Regions from separate parts of the Homo sapiens genome. Here region 1 is linked to region 2. The links are contacts of gene promoters, found by promoter capture Hi-C in human tissues and cell types (Jung and others, 2019). All regions are on one chromosome and are shown on one strand. Each heading gives the region's core, a stretch centred on a gene start or on the middle of the fragment in contact. The rest is flanking DNA. Distances are from core to core; before and after follow the strand shown.

Region 1 (2,700 bases), core at 3-2,502, 200 kb after region 2:
CGGCTTCCTGTGCCTGCGAACAATGCTGCTGCGTCACCCACATGCAGCTCCCAGAAATGCTTTGCAACGGAAGATGGCAGGAGGGGGAGCCGAGCGAGAGTGAGCGAGCCAGGCAGAGGGCCCAGCCGTTCTGCTGCAGAGCCGGGAGGGGGTGTGTTCAGCAACTGCTTTCTTCCTCGCGATTGGAAGAGGCCCTGCCAGGGAGGAGAGCTCAGCCACAGCCCCCGCCCTGTCTCCCTCCCACCACCACTGCAATAGGAGAACCTAGGGCCAGCCCCCTGAGGGCTCCCGGTGGCAGACTTCTGAAGGCGCCAGCCAAAGGGAAGGCTTTAACTCATTCTGCGGGCTACACTAGGCACCTTGGCCCACATTTGTCCTTGTTTCAGTCCACACCCTTCCCCTCAGGGTCACCTCTCACTGTTACCACTGTTACTGCCAGAGCTCTCTGGCTGACTGCACACACACTTCTCTCTCCCCTCTCAGCAAGTAGAGGGGGTCGCCCAAAGTTCCGCCTCTCTGGATGAACTAGGCACAGGAGCTGAGTTCCTCTTGAGTTATCTTCTCTCTCCGGCACACTGCCTGCTTCACCTGCCCTCGCTGACTTGCTCCCAGCCCACAATCCAGAATCTGCCTATGTGTTCCAAAAAACCTTCAGAAATGGCCCATGTCAGCCAATATTGAGATATTCAATAAAATACGGCTAACATCAACTACATCTAAAACAGATGCCTGCTTCTGATTCTGACAAGGACTCCACCCCCACAGTACAGTACTAGAAATGTCTGCGCAGCAATCCTGCAGCAGTTCCACCGTGACCAAGTCAAACAACTGAGGCACAACACACTTTGCCCTCCTGCCTCTAAACAAGGTGCAGGAAGCCAGGGAACACACATTCTCCCAATTCCAGCAGTCTCCTCTGCCTGTAAGATTATCCTACCCTCAGAATACCAGTATTGTACTCTTGGATTTCCATTTCTATTCAAGTCTGTTTGCCTGTCTCATTCTTGATATTCCCCAGATGAAGCAGCCAGTCCTGCATCCTGTCAAGACACCTCACTGCCTTCTCACAGCCACTCGGACTGACAAGTATTGCTCACACCTCTGCACAACAAACCCTGATCCCCGGATCCCCAGCTGGGATGAAGCTCAGACTGAACACACACTCCTTTCAGTCTACAGGAGGAAAGGAGGGTGCACACTCTGGTTGAGTTTCTAGTGATCCACAGTGTACCAAACATCAGCATGGGAGAACCTGAGTAGGAATCAAATACTTAGCAGAAACAGTTTGGGTCTTTTTTAGAGCCAATGTGATTTTTATGTGACTTTTAGACCCTTACAAATGTATAACTTGCCTTTTTTGCAGATGCTCTGATTTAAGCATCTAGCTCTTAAGCATTCTTATTTATTTCCAGGACAGTTGTTTGAGTGAGTTTCTGGTACAGATTTAGTGGCTAACTAGGCTTTCTAAAGTCTGGAGCTTTGCTGCCAGGGGCTACATATGTTATTTTTATAGTAGTTTACCAGGGGAAGGACAGACTTTTGTGCTCTCGGCTGAGCTTCTCCTGGAAATGCTTATATGGTCATCCTAACCCTAAACTTCTCCCGGACACTGTATCTTAAGACTCAAGACCCACTGCAATCGGCTTATTTTGTTTGAAAGGCTTTCCTTAACAGTGATCTAGCTATTGAGAGGTCTTCTTGGAAAATGCTTATTTTGATCTTCAGTGCTATCTATATTATAGAGATAGTAAAGTATGAATACTTAAGAGAAAACATATTACTTTAAAACAAACGTAAGTTCAAGTTGCAGCAAGTGCAAATTCTAGAGGCCACCAGGAAAGGAAAAAAATCACATCGGGCACTAGGAAACTCACTCCCAGTAAGTTTCCAAATCACAAATTAAACAAGGCCTAACTTTACCCCCTCCTGCTAATTGAGAATAAAAGATAGGCAAAAAAGATAAGAATTACTAAGACCATGACATTACATAATACAAGAATATAAGGAAAATATTTAAAATAATTATATGTAACTTTAAGCATATATGCCTCATAACTGAGTTACATTACTTAAAACTTTCTATTCAGTAAGAATGTATGAATTATTACAAATATCTTGTTAGTAAATATTGCAAATAAAGTTTTATTTGTATAAATAAATATATCCTATAACAGGATATAAATTTTTTTTTTTTTCAGACAGGGTCTCGCTTTGTTGCCCAGGCTAAAGTGCAGTGGTAGATGACAGCTTACTACAGCCTAGACCTCAGCCTCCTGAGTAGCTGGGACTACAGGTGCACAATACCATGCTCAGCTAATTTCTTAATTTTTTTGAAGATGGAGTCTCACTATGTTGCCCAGGCTGGTCTTGAACTCCTGGCCTTAAGTGATCCTCCTGCTTCAGCCTCCCAAAGTGCTGGAATTATAGGCATGAGCTAACACATCTGGCCTAGGTTGCTTTACAAAAAAAAATCTGTAAGCCTGGACCCAGGACAAACAAACAAACAAAAAGCTGAGTTGGTTGGGTAAGGTGGCTCATGCCTGTAATCCTAGCACTTGGGAGGTCGAGGCAGGAGGATTGCTCAAGGCAAGGAGTTCAAGATTCAAGACCAGCCTGGTCAACACAGCAAGACCTCGTTGCTAATAATAATAATAATGATAATAATAATAATAAAGAAAAATTTAAAAACATTTAAAAATC
Region 2 (2,700 bases), core at 1-2,500:
GATCTGTACCCCGACACAGCCGGGCCCGAGGCAGCCCTGGAGGCTGAGGAGTGGGTGAGCGGGCGGGATGCCGACCCGATCCTCATCTCACTGCGGGAGGCCTACGTGCCCAGCAAGCAGCGGGACCTGAAGATCAGCCGGCGCAACGTGTTGTCTGACAGCCGGCCCGCCATGGCCCCGGGCTCCTCCCACCTAGGGGCCCCCGCCTCCACCACCACTGCTGCTGATGCCACCCCCAGCGGCAGCCTGGCCAGAGCCGGGGTATGCACGCGCAGGCAGGGGTGGTGCTGGGAGCCCCAGGTGTGGCCCTGGCCTGCTGTGTGGGCTTCAGCCATTCGCTGTCCCTCTCTGGGGTAGTGGTGGGTTTGGGAGGGCTATGGCTTAGCAGCCCCTGACCACCGCCCCCTACCCCTGCTTCATGTCCCCACAGGAGGCTGGGAAGCTGGAGGAGGTGATGCAGGAGCTGCGGGCCCTGAGGGCGCTGGTCAAGGAGCAGGGCGACCGCATCTGCCGCCTGGAGGAGCAGCTGGGCCGCATGGAGAACGGGGATGCGTAGGGCCACAGCCACACGCCACCTTCATCTCCTCCGCCGCCCCCTTCCCACTCAGCTTCTGCCAGCGGGTCGCACCGGGCTAGCTGGCTGCCCAGAGCCTCTGAGGCAGCGCAGGGGTCAGTTCCCACCCCCACCCGTCCCAGGCCCAGGCCGAAGCCAGCGCCCAGCTTTCCTCACTGTTCCTGTGGAGGATGTCTACGCCCAGGCGAGCTCCTCGACCTCTGAGGGACCATCTCCCCGACCACTGCCCAGCCCTCTGCTCCCTCCCCAGAGGAGGCGGGAGGGTGGGCTCTATATTTTCATTCCAAATAAAATTCTCTTTCTAAAAGCCAGGCTGACCTGCTGCTGCAAGGGTGGGGCTGAGAAGTCTGGAAACCTGGAGACAGAGGATGTCACAGGAGTCACACATGTGCAGAAGGTCTGGGGGCAGTGAGCAGCCCCACAGGCATTGCTCCCCTGGATTGTCAGGCAGGGAAACTGAGGCAGAAGACCTGAGAACACATGCAAGGCTGCATCCAGCTTCAAGTTGGTGCTGCTTCTTCCTTGGAGGACAGGCCCGGCAGCCCAGCCTCCTCCAGAGAGACTGGGGAGGGTCTGGTGTGGACCAGGGGTCCTGCAGCAGGGAGGGGCAGGTGGGGTATGTGGGCAGGAAGCGGAAGCCTGGGCCACCCTTCACTGCAGACGAGCACTGAGCTCACTTCTCGCTCGACACAGCCAGAGCTGGAGGTGGGTGCCCGGCACGGAGGGGCCTGCGGACCAATGGTAAGCCTCGGAGCCCCCCGGGTTCTTGGGATGGGGGCCACAGGCGGTCGGGGCTAGAATGTCTGGGCCTGTGGAGCTAAGGAGGGCCCCACATTGGCCCCAGGGAAGAGGTGAGACCTAAGAGGAGTATGGCAGAGGCTGAACCTTTCTCTCACCTGAGCTGGGCTCCCTGGGACTCCAGGCCTGGCCCCCAGCACCCCATACCGGACCAGGCCCCTGTCAGGAGCCCTGGGAAGGCCCTTACCTGGTCTTCCTGTGAGCGGGAACTTGCATTCCTGGAGCCTGGGCGGACAGCCTGGGGTGGTGGGGGAGGCTGGCTGCACCTCAGCACCCCTCCCCCGACACCCCCCACCTAGCCTGTTCCGACCGCAGACTTCCTCTGGCAGCTGCGCCCGCCTCCCCCAGCCCCCCCCAGCCCCCGGCCCTGCACGCCTGTGGCCCTCAGGGACTGGGAGTGGAACGGAAACCCTGCCGCTGGGGCAGCCCCGTGGTGGGGAGGGAGGAAGAGGGGCCTCACGGACCCCCGTTTGGGGACCTGGCCAAGCAGAAGATGAGCAGTTGCCTCTGGGTGCATCCAGGCCCCTCCATCCCCCATCCCAGGCCTCAGGGAGAGCCAGCCCTGACACCAGCTAGCAACCTCCTTCCCTCCCTCCCATCTCCTCTCCCACCCACCCAGGCAGCCTAGACACATTTAATCCATACTTATTGAGCACCTACTAACATGCTTGACCCAAAAAGCCCCCGTTTCCTAGCAGCTTATTGTGGGGGGTAGATAAGACAATAGACATAAAAAATGAGTACAGTTATCTCCTGCGTTAGGTGACATGGAAGGAAAAAGGCACTGAGTGCTGGGGGGTGCTGGGGTGGGCTGCAGTGATAGACATCAGGGTAGAGGTTAAGGTCAGGTTCAGCCTCACTGGGGTGAAGTTTGAGCACGGTGAGCAGGCCATGCAGCCCGGGGGAGGGGAGGATGGGAGGAGGTGGAGCTTTCCGGGCAGAGGGAACAGCCAGTGCGAAGGCCCCAGGCAGGTGGCTTAATGCAGCTGTTGGGGGAGGTGAGTGGTAGGGAGGAGGCTGGAGGGATGGGGGCTGATCTCACAGGGCCAGAGCCTGGTTGACCAAATAAGGCCTTGGCCTTTTCTGCTTGGCTGTCCCAAGAGGATCCCAAAGAGAAAAAAACGAAAGTGGTCTTGGTCACCCAGCCTGCCCCACACCAGGCCCCACCCCAGGTGCTGAGCCCTCTGAGCCCCTGCCTGTCTCCCACAGGCTCTGCCCTGCACCTTAGGGCTCGGGATGCTGCTGGCCCTGCCAGGGGCCTTGGGCTCGGGTGGCAGCGCGGAGGACAGCGTGGGCTCCAGCTCTGTCACCGTTGTCCTGCTGCTGCT

What was found. Contacts are between HindIII fragments. The study calls those that stand out against the background at their distance.
Region 1: a contact is called between a fragment that was not itself captured here and the fragment with the promoter of PTPRCAP in region 2, in 1 of the 25 tissues and cell types used here (hippocampus).

Annotation. Positions count from the first base shown.
Region 1 is chr11:67,237,415-67,240,114 of GRCh38, reverse strand. All of the region lies in intron 12 of KDM2A (lysine demethylase 2A), which reads right to left. Among named protein-coding and RNA genes, the nearest start is that of GRK2, 28 kb to the left of the region's middle. RefSeq lists an enhancer at 14-73. The HindIII fragment of the contact is 7,033 bases long and covers 1-2,700 here.
Region 2 is chr11:67,436,232-67,438,931 of GRCh38, reverse strand. PTPRCAP (protein tyrosine phosphatase receptor type C associated protein) reads left to right here and starts at 1,250. Exons shown (of 2, transcript NM_005608.3): 1 at 1,250-1,315; 2 at 2,582-2,700. The coding sequence starts at 1,313. CORO1B (coronin 1B) reads left to right here. Exons shown (of 11, transcript NM_020441.3): 10 at 1-261; 11 at 431-2,700. The coding sequence ends at 556. RefSeq lists enhancers at 1-232, 233-765, 766-1,298, 1,299-1,831, 2,147-2,206 and 1 more and silencers at 167-306, 1,557-1,926. The HindIII fragment of the contact is 14,275 bases long and covers 1-2,700 here.